Regions from separate parts of the Homo sapiens genome. Here region 1 is linked to region 2. The links are contacts of gene promoters, found by promoter capture Hi-C in blood cells and fetal thymus (Javierre and others, 2016). All regions are on one chromosome and are shown on one strand. The core of a region is centred on a gene start or on the middle of the fragment in contact, and the rest is flanking DNA. Distances in the headings are between cores, read along the strand shown.

The links. The method cuts DNA at HindIII sites, captures the fragments that hold promoters and counts their contacts. A CHiCAGO score of 5 or more calls a contact.
Region 1: a fragment that was not itself captured here is called in contact with the fragment with the promoter of CFAP100-DT in region 2 in 8 of 17 cell types (megakaryocytes, monocytes, endothelial precursors and 5 more); the score reaches 16.5 in megakaryocytes.

The regions. Positions count from the first base shown.
Region 1 is chr3:126,130,064-126,135,268 of GRCh38, forward strand. ALDH1L1 (aldehyde dehydrogenase 1 family member L1) reads right to left here. Exons shown (of 23, transcript NM_012190.4): 13 at 1,321-1,471; 14 at 160-230. Among named protein-coding and RNA genes, the nearest start is that of ALDH1L1-AS2, 47 kb to the right of the region's middle. RefSeq lists an enhancer at 1,775-2,592 and a silencer at 4,190-4,269. The HindIII fragment of the contact is 1,514 bases long and covers 1,839-3,352 here.
Region 2 is chr3:126,391,456-126,396,570 of GRCh38, forward strand. CFAP100-DT (CFAP100 divergent transcript) reads right to left here and starts at 3,343. Exons shown (of 2, transcript NR_103789.1): 1 at 2,844-3,343; 2 at 1,577-1,838. It overlaps CFAP100 (cilia and flagella associated protein 100), which reads left to right and starts at 3,454. Exons shown (of 17, transcript NM_182628.3): 1 at 3,454-3,523; 2 at 4,487-4,594. The coding sequence starts at 4,546. LOC107986044 (a long non-coding RNA gene) reads right to left here and starts at 793. Exons shown (of 3, transcript XR_001740563.1): 1 at 728-793. The HindIII fragment of the contact is 2,207 bases long and covers 1,638-3,844 here.

The DNA.
Region 1 (5,205 bases), core at 1,346-3,845, 260 kb before region 2:
AACAATGCCTGGCATGGAGCAGGTGCTCAAGAAGCACATGGATGGCTGTTTGATAAATGCACGCACAGGGTGCTGTGAGCTCCCGCAGGCTGTGCTACAGTTCCGTGTACTGCATGGAAAGCACCGCGAGGCTGCACCTCGCCCTGGGCAGGAACTCACCCAACAGGCTCCTTCCTGGTCAAGGTCAGGTTGCGGTTGGGTCTGGCCTGGTTGATGGGGATGGTGGAGCCCTGGAAGAGGAACAGGGGCAGTCACCCAGGGGCCCAGGGTCCACACCCCTTCCCCTCTAGGCAGCAAGTCTCCACCAGGGTCTCCAGGAGGAAGTCAAAGCGACCAGCTTAGGTGTGACCTGAGGCTTGAGAGACAGGCAGGGGGGCAGCCAGAGGGGCAAGGTGTTTGCTCCACTCTGAGCCTGGCAGGCAGAGCCCTTGGGTGGAAGCTGGTCCTGGTACCAGCAAAGCCTCTAGCTTTGACATTCGAGCAAGAAAGGGTGAGGGTGGGGGCAGGGCCGGGTGTCCCCCTCCCCACAGCTCTAAGCAGTTGAGCACATGTAGAAGGCCCAGGCCTTGGGGGGTCCAGCTGCAGCCAGAAGCTACACAGCTGCGGAGTAGGGGCGGGCACCAGGCAGCCCACCTCCCTTGTCGCTGTCATGCCCTGGTGGAGAGGAGGAACCATGGAGCCCAGATCTGATCTGGCAGAGACGCCATGAGTCCTGCAGAGGTGGACCTCCCCAGGGAGCCTCTACAAATGGCCCCCAAGTTCCACAACTGATGGCGGGAGCCTGAAGATATGGTGACACTCCCTCCTATGAGGTGTTGACTGTCCCTGTTGACCCTAAGGTGGGGACATAGTGCCCATGAGCCCAGAATAACTGCAGGAGCCCCCAGAAAAGCAGGCAGAAGACAGTGTCACAGGGATCCCAAGCCCGAGAGTGACCTGCTGCCGCTGGGAGATACAGTGCCCTGAGCAGGGACCTGCAGCCAGGAAGGACCTGCGGCCTCAGCCCTGCATCCACACGGAACTGAACTCTGTCAACACCCGAACTCGTCTGGATGCAGGTTCTGTCCCAGAGTCTCCAGATAAGGCCCAGTCCAGCCAGCGCCTTAGCTTTGGCCTTGTGAGACCTTGGCATGGAACCCAGCCCAGCCTGCCTGGAATTCCCACCTGCAGGACCACAAGCTAATAAACAGGTGTCATTCCAAGCCACCAGTTGTGGTCATTTGCTGCGCAGCATGCAGATGACTGTGCTGCCCTTGGAGTTCTCCTATATGGCTGGGCCAGTCTGCATGTGCTCACACTGGGTGGGAGCCTGGGCCCCACCTGGATCTTGTCACACCAGCCAGCAAAGTAGCGGAAGGTCTGGATGGACATGCCCACGTGGGTCTTCAGGGCCAGCGTGTAGACGGCACCCGCATCCAGGGCCTCAATGGTGGCCAGCTCCTCCTGGTGCTGCTCCATGAGATCTGCCAACCTGACCAGGGTGAGGGGAAGCGGGAGGTGGGCTCAGGCCTGGCACGGCCTCATCTGCCCTCACAAGGCCCTTCTTCAAGGAGCTGGGGTCCTGCCCTCTACCCCAGTTCTGCCACTCTCAGATGTGCGGACCTCCGTTTCTGATCCATGCAATGGGCCAGCACCGTTTACTCCACCGGATAGCTGTGAGGATGACACCCTCTGTCCCTCTCTCCTTTCCTCGATCTTCCCTCGCTTCCTTCCTGAAGTATTTGTGGATCCACTACTTTATCCTATTCCTCCGAAATTATCCTGCAGAGGCATTCACCCACTTGCTGCAGACAGCAAAGGGGTCATGGCCCAAGAGGCTGCCCTTCCTGTCTTCGGAAAGCTTGAACCAGGAGAAAGTCCATCTGTCTTTCCAGCACCAATAAACCAACTGTTCAGTCCAGGATGGTGGGGGCATGCTCCTGAGCCTGGCATCTCCAGAGATGGAGAGGTGGCCCCATCCCCATCACAGAAGGGCTGACTAGGGAGCAACGTGGGGGCTGACGCGTTTACACAGACTGGCTTCAGCCTGAGCATGCCGAGGTCGGGTTGCCCTCCCTTGATTCTGACGGATGTGCAGCTGTGGGCAGCCTGGGAGTTATGAGGGTGCCCCTCTCATCCCCTAGGGGGAGGGTGGACAGGGAAAGTGGAGACCACAGGCCCAGAGCAAACTCAGCCTTGGAGACAGGGCAGCTCGGGCCCAGAGGCAAGTGTGGGACCAAAGCCTGCCAGCCGTTTCCCACACTGCTCCCCTCTGCACCCAGGCACCATGAAGCCCACACGCACCCCAGGCCTGCTCCGGTCCTCACCTGCCTACACCCACCAGGACCCGTGACAGCTGTCCACGCCACTCAGGATGCATCTGCAACTCTGTGCCTGGCCAAGCAGCTCCTGGCCATTTCCATTTCATTCTGGGGCCACAAGACCCCAGCTCCTCTGCCTCCCTCCTCCTCCTCACATCGGCCTCTTCCAGGTGCTCAGGTCAGTCAGGCCTCCTGCCTTGGCTTTTAGGGGCTGTGTTGCATGTCTGGGCCCCCTTTCCACACTCCTGTTTCTCCTCTTAGCCTTCTGTACTTGTTTCAGACACGGACTCAATGGGAAGCCGACCCAAATCCCCAACCATGTTCTGACTGATCAGAGCTCCCTGTCACATCCTCTGATAGCCTCCTCTGCCTTTCTTCACTCCCCCACCACTACAGTTTGTAACAGACATTCAGGTAGATGATAATTTCATCACGATTTGCCTGCCCACTGGAATCCAGGCTGCAGGAGGCAGGGCGCTGTCTGGTTCCCTGCTCTCTGCAGCGCCCAGCTCCAGCACAGCACTGGGAAGCACTCAGCTCAGGTTTGCTGCATAAAACCAACTGAGCGAGGCCACCCTGGGCAAGGAGAGCCCATGCGTAAATCGGTTCCTGAGAAAAACCGATTTTGTACAGCAAATAGTGAAAACATCACCTAGCGGCCGATAGAGGACTAGGCTCCCCAGCTGCGAAGACAGGAGCTGCCTCTTTGTTATATAAATGAGACCCATTTGCTCCAAAGCCTGCTGGCACCAAACTCAAATTTTCCCACTCCCAGTTAGGCTTAAAGTAGCCCAAACAGGTACGTTTTTAGCCACTTAGGGCCCGCTGCTTTGCATACCCAGAGGAACCTCAACCAGCAGTTGTTGCCCATTGATAAAACAGGGCCTTGGGGTGATAAGGTGAAAGCTGCTACTGCCCTTGGCAGCCCTCAGACCCAGAGGCTCCCACTGCATCACTGTGTGTTGTCACCTGGACATGGAAGCCCACACGGCAGCCTTGGGACAGTCTCACTGCTCGTCTCCTGCAACCCTACCCAACCTGCAGCCCACTAAAGCTTGTGGTGTGCCATGCCTCCCCTGCTCACATCCTTCTCCTTCATCAGCCCCAATCCTTTGAATCCCCCACATTTCTAGATAATTCCACCTGTGTGTGACATGGCTGTGTCATCAATCCAGTTCCCAGGACACACTTTCTAAAGTATCCATCACCCGAGTGCACTATTCGGGAAGCTCTGAGAGGCTGCCTTGCAGGACTATTCTATTGTTAATTCAGTTAGGCTGCTGAATTCACACCCTGGCACCCATGCTCCCCAGAGCCCAGTCCCTGGGTGCCAGGGTAGCAGTGCAGGAGAAGTGAAGCTGCTGCCATCTCCCTCTGAAGGTCTGCAGGGCAGATGCAGGGGTGCCCAGCAGGCTCGGCCGGCCCTACTGACCACCAGCAGCCTGGACCACCGTCAGATTCTCAGCCGTGGACCACAGTGGTATCTGGGCAGAGCCAGCAGCTCCCCCACGGTCTTTCCCAGGAGCTCCTCTTTGTGGCCCCACTTGGCAGCTGGATACGGCTGCTCCTACTCCCTGGAGGTTCTATCCTGTCTACCAGGAGTTCAGGGGACTGCCTAGGAACCTTGTCTAACTCTCCCTCTGGATCCTTCTTCCTAGCTTCCACAATTGTGTAATGTCTGATTCCTGCAGTGAATTTCGTGTTCCCTAACACCCACGGTGGTCCCGCCACCCTGACAGGGTGCTCTGCAGCCATTTATCTGGGAGCTCCTGAACTGCCCCCTCCGGGACACCTAGACCCAGCCTCTGCTGTGCTGAGCTGAGGCAGAACCAGTAATGGGCACTCCCAGGTCTTCACGGGGCCTGAGAGTTTGCATAGGACAGGAAGGGGTCCACTTACAGCTGCCCAGGGTGCCCCCCTCACTGTCATTATGGGTGAGTAGAATCTGTTATGATACAAGCCACCAGATGGCAGCAGAGGCCAAGGGAGGGACCCCACGCACGCTGTTGGTTGTGCGGTCCACCAAACGCGCACGCAGGGCCCAGGCCAGAGGTTCTCCCGCCACCTGTCGTGCTTGTTTCACAGCTCTTCCTGACCTCCAGGAACTCTAGGGACCACTTGGCGTGGCCAGTGCCTTTCTAGAATTGAGGGGCTTGCGAAGGGGACTGGAACCTATGAAAGGCTGGGCATGCCCGACCCCCACAGCCCTCCCTGCCCCAACCCTAATCTCCATTCGGTTTTGCAGACCATGCTCTTGCAACCCCTCTCTCTAGTTTCCTGCTGCTGGGCTGCCCCGGCTTTTCTGGCCTCTGGAGTATAACAGAAACAGAAGCCATTCTGACCGCAAGGCCAAGGCAGGGTCTCTCCTGCCAGGTGAGGAGCTTCGTTGGGACCACGCCATAACTTGGCTTCGCACCCCTAGACGTTCCCAGGACCCCAGCGAAAGAGCCAGGCCCCAAGACACCTGTGTTCTCGGCTCATCTGGCCGCACCCTCTCTTCTCCCAGGAACATCACTCCACCTCTGTGAGGGTGACTGCTCCTTCCCGCCAGGCCCTGTGGTTCCAGGGGCACAGCACCTCTCTTCCAGGCCTTCCTCTCACTCTAAGGTCATAAGCTAAAGTCATCATAAGTCCTTGCCTAAGACGTCTGAACTGGAACTAAGGAGAGAAGGCCCCTTTCTCCCTGGCTTAAATTTTTTTTTTTTTTTTAATAGAAAATGTGAAACCTATAGATTCCAGTAGTCAGAGCCTGGCTGAGCAAGCAGAGACCAGGCCAGCCCTTCTCTGGCCCTTGCTGTCTTCTGCGTGCAGGAGCTAAGTCCCCTCCAGCCCAGGCTGGTGAGGGAAGTGCTTTGTCTGCCTGGGAGGCCCAGCCTGCGCCCACTTTGGAAGCATCCCTTGGCTT
Region 2 (5,115 bases), core at 2,093-4,592:
TAATTTACATATCTAAACTTCACCCACTTAAAGTGCATTTTACTATATTCAGAGTAAATCTAATGTTCACCATAGTCTAATTTTAGAACACTTTCATCACCCTAAAGAGCAAAATCCCATCTCCATTAGCCACCACTGCCCATTTGCCTGTTTCCCCAATTCCATCTAGGCGCCTTCATAGGATATGTGGTCTCTTGTGACCACATATGAGCCCAGTCTTACTCTGGGCTCCAAGACCTTCTTTTTTATTCCACTAGCACTGTTTCTCTGACACTGTGGTCAAATGTGATATGCCTGGGATGTGGATGCCAAAAGTCATCCCTGTTTTTTCCTAGACTCCAATCAAATTATCCATCCATCTGAGCTGGCAGGAAAGCAATCTGATTAATGTGATTGCTCACAAAATATAAAAAGCATGCCAGGCTAGAGCACCTGGCAGGCACTGGTTGGGGACACGTTCCCAGAGAGGGAGGGGGGATGGGGCTTCAGACACTCTTTAAGGACTTTGCAGCTTTCCCCTGAAACATGGTCCTGCAGGCCACAACCCATGCAGGGGCTCCTAGGTCAGTGTAAGTAGTGCAAAGAGCTCATATCACTGCCCTCCCTGTGGAAAGCCCTTGACTCACCGTGAAGCACGGTAGACATGGCTGTCATTCTCCATAACCTACCACCTCTCAGCAAAAGGAAAACCCCCATGTGAGAGATCTGGGCATCTAAGGCATTTTACCTTGAAGGTGACTCTCCAATCCAGCCTGGCCTGCTGTGCTGTAGAACAACGGTGAGACCAGGTGCTGCAGGAAAGAAATACAAGCTGCTCTCTCAGGCTTTGTCGTTCTGGTAGACCTCTGAATACCCTGTCTGGGTACAGGACTACTCCTGACCCCCCTGGTTTCTGAGTCCCTCCTCCCACGGCAGAAGCCAAAGATCTTGTGTGGAAGGCGGGAGGTGCAGGCAGGCGATCCAGGTGCTGCCTACCGGTCAGGAGTGCATAGCAGACTTCGGATCACAGCATGTTCTCTGCCAGAACGCGCCTGCGATGGCTTTGGGCTCCGCTCCAGGCTACAGCATCTCCCAGCTTGATTCCCTATCGTCCTACAGAGTCTGGGGGCACCCCCATGTCCTTTTCTCCCCCAAGTGGCTATAGTTGCTTTCTGTTGTTTATTCCCGAGAGCCCAGACTGATATACCTTCTTTGAGGAGGAAAATACGAAATCTGAAATACGAATTTCTCCTTTAAGAAGATTGTTAGCTTTTCCCAAAATGTTTGATTATGAACATTTTCAAGCTTCAAACATACAGAAATGTTGGAAGGATTTTGAAGCAGACATCCACATGCCCACTGCCTGGGCTGGACAGCTCACAGGCCACTACGATTCACCACACAGCCAGCCAGCCACCATTGCTCCACCAATCATGCATCTGATTTTAAAAATTAGCTTTTAATCAGCAAATGGTATTTCTAGTTAGACCTGTTAGGCTAAGACTAAAAGTTCCAAATCAGGTCACGTTTTCTAGGTGGTTTTCTTTCTAACCTTGTAAGCTACCAAGAGCAAAAACAAAGGCCAGAACACACAAACTGACAGATAACTTGCCTTTATTATGAAGTACACCTTTGGACTTGTGGGGTTTTTTTCCCAAAGCTTGTGCATCATTGTCTGGGATAACTGCATAAAATGGAAGGACGATTCCTGGTGAGAGGCAGTGTGTTCTAGGTAAGAGCAAAGCTGGAATCCGCTGTCTCACTGTGTCCCTGCTCTGTCCACACCGGCAACTCATGCAAAGGCAGGGTGATCATGCAGGTGAAATGGGTGGATTGGTGTCAAGTGCGTGGAACAGTACCTGGCACATAGAAAACACTCTGTAAGGTTCATGGGGAGATTCACGACTGTTCATAAACTGATCTGTTGATGACAATGAATGGGCAGGAGCCTGGGTACCTTTGTTCTCTTTGGGTCACTTATGTTCTAGCTTCCTAAAAGTCTCATTAGAGCACCTTGTATTTAGATAAACCATTACAAAAACACTTACTTTTCTACTTGAGTCACCAGTTTATGAAGTGCTTCTTGTGGTTTGCTAAAACCTAAATCGGAGGGACAGGTTTTTGTTCTGCTTTGATGGTTTGTAGGGAGATAAGGCTGCAGAGGTAGGCTGGGGCCGGGTCATTGAGGACTTTGAATGTCAGTGTAAGGAGCCTCTCTCCTAAGGGTAAAGGGACAACTTGTCTTTCAGCACATTTGACAATAGCAGCTGTAACGAACACACACGTGCACACATGCACACACACACACTACATGTGCACACATGTGCACATGCACACATGCACAAATCACATATGTGGCTTAACACAATACAACATTCTTCCTCCCTTGTGCAAAGCCCACTGTGGATATTGCAAGTTGGGACACTATTCTACCAGCGAAGATTCAGGGATCCCTGCTCCTTCCATCTTGGGAGCTCCTCCTCACTCCCACCCCCAGCTCCAATGGAGTTCCTGTTGTGGATGTGGTCTTCCCACCCACTACACCGGCCTTAGGCAGAGCCTGGCACAGCTGGGATCCTCACTGGGACTACATTGCTGGGCTGCAGACTGCTCCAGAGTCCCCCCAGAAGCCCCTAAATGTCCCTGAAAAGATGAGTCACTGACTGTGCTTTCAGCTCCAAGCAGCCTTTATCAATCTCTCAATCCCCATAGATACTGGGAAAATCTAGGAACATGTTCAGAACTCAAAGAGGGGTCTTCTGCTGCTGCTTTTTGTGGGGAGACAGGATCCCTGAGCTGGGGGACCAGACATCCTGGTGCCCCTGGCTTCAAGCAGCTGGTGGATCTGCGCGCTCAAAACTTGCCCTGGTCTGTATGGCCTCATCCTCTCGCTTGTCCCACTATGATGGATCTCGCTCGCTCCGTAGAGCAGTGGCTTTGCAACCCTAGCCAGCACTGGGGTCGCGCGTGGACTTGTCAGGACACACATTGCTGGGCTCCACCCCGAGTTTCTGATTCTGGGGCGAGGATTGAAAACTTGCTTTTCTAACGAGTTCCCAGCATTTTCGATGCTGCTAGTCCTGAGACCATACTTTGAAAACCGCCCCTCTAGAAAGTGCGATCCCTCCCCAGGAAAGAAGCAGGGCTATTTTTGCTCCAAAAGTATCCATCCTGCACGCCCTCTTCAGTGCTTGGCACGTGGCGAATAAACCAATCAGGATGAAAGGAGCCAACCCAAGTGCGGAGTGTTGAACCTCAGAGGAAGAAACCCGCGTTCACCAGGCCCAGGCCTGGGCCAGGCGCTGTCCTGGCGGCGTCAGGGAGGACATCGTGCCCAGAGCTCGGACCCAGCAGCCCGGCCCCGCGCCCTCCCTGTCCCGCGGCCCGCAGGCCCAGCCCTCAAGCGCCCAGCCTCCGCGGCCTTTGTGGCGTCACAGCCAGCCTGAAGAATGGTTGCCTTGGAGACGTAAACCCAAGAGCCCTGCTCCTGGAGCTGAGAACTGCAGCGCGGAGGCTTCGGAGCGAGCCGGGGCAGTCGGGGTCGGTGGGTGCGCTCGCGGTCCGGGGAGAGGGGGCGCGCGGGGTCCGTGAGGGCGCGTGGGGGCGGCGGCAGGGGTGCGAAACCAGGGCCCGAGGGGCGCGCGTGGCCGGGAGCGGACTTGCAAGGCGCCTTCCAAGGCTGCCCGCTCGCATGCCACTTGCTTGAAACACACCCATCTACCATCCACCCCATCTGTCCTACCATCCCTGTGCACCTCGCTGTGTGGCTCGGGGCCTTGCAGAGCGCGGGTGTTAGGAGGCGACCCTGCGAACCCCAGGCTCACCCAATAGGGGGCTGCAGCAGGAATGCGGCAGGAATGGCACAAGCTTAGAGTGGGGGCCCTTTCCAGAGGCAGCCCCTCCTGACTGTGACTTTGGACACCTCGCTGAATCTCTGCTTCCTCCCCTGCAAAAATGAAAATTCATTCAATGGATGAAGTTAAGAAGTGCCAAGGGTATGTCAGGAGCTTGGATGAGCAGAAAAGACCCCCCTGTTCTCATGGAGCTCACATTTTAGGGGGAAATAGACAACGAATGGATTTTTAAAGTGATAATCAGATAGTGGGAATTGCAGAGAAGAAAATAAAGGCCACATGGGGGTGGGGAGGAAGAAACCACTTTGGATGGGATGGTGAGAGGTCTCTCTAAAGAGGTGACATTTGAGCTCGGAATTGAAGAGAAGGAAGCCCAGCACCCCCAGCTGGGTATGGGAGAATATTTTTTGGCCGAGGAGGCCGAAAATGCAAAGGCTTGAGGCCAAGATTGATGTGTTCTAAGCACAGAAAAAGTAGGCAGCTAGAGCCAAGTCCAGGAGGTGAGAGTGGACCCTCGGGTGGGAGAGGCAGGGAGCCGGCAGGTGTCCCCACAAGGTGAGCCCTCAGCAAATGTCGGTGGCTGTCAGCCACCCAGGGGGAAGGAAGCTCTGGGCTTGGGGACCACCAGGCTCAAGCACTGTGTCACTCCTCAGGTGAGGATCTCCTTTAGAAGAGGAGAAGCCTTGCATCAACCTCTTGGGCCTCAGCCAAGATGTCTGAGATACCGTCCACTATAGTCTCCAAGAACATGACCAATGACAGTAAGTACCGGGCCAGGGTGGGCACTCTCAGAGGTCAGGGGCAGCTTCGGAGCCTGTCCAGCTCCCTCACAGGTTAAGGTAGCTCTAAACCAAACACTAGGCAGGAGTCATAGATCTGCCTACTTCCCTTGAAACAAGGCATATGGATTGCCTGCAGCTGCTGTAACAAAGCACCACCACAAACTGGGGGGCTGGAGTCACAGACATTTGTTTTCTCAAGCTCTGGGGGCTGGATGTCTGAGATCAAGTTGTCCAAAAGGCTAGGTCCCTCCAAGGGCTCTGAGCGAGAACCCATTCCGGGCCTCTCTCCTGGTTTCCAGAGCTTTGCAGGCAATCCTTGGTGCTCTTTGGCTTGTAGAAGCATCACTCCCATCTCAGCCTTCCTGCCCATGTGGAATTCTGCCTGTGTGTGTCTGTGTCCAAATTTCCCCATTTTACAGGGACCCCATCACATTGGATTGGAGGCCTACCCCGCTCCAGAATGGCCTCAGCTTAGTGAATTACAGCTGCAAAGACCTTAT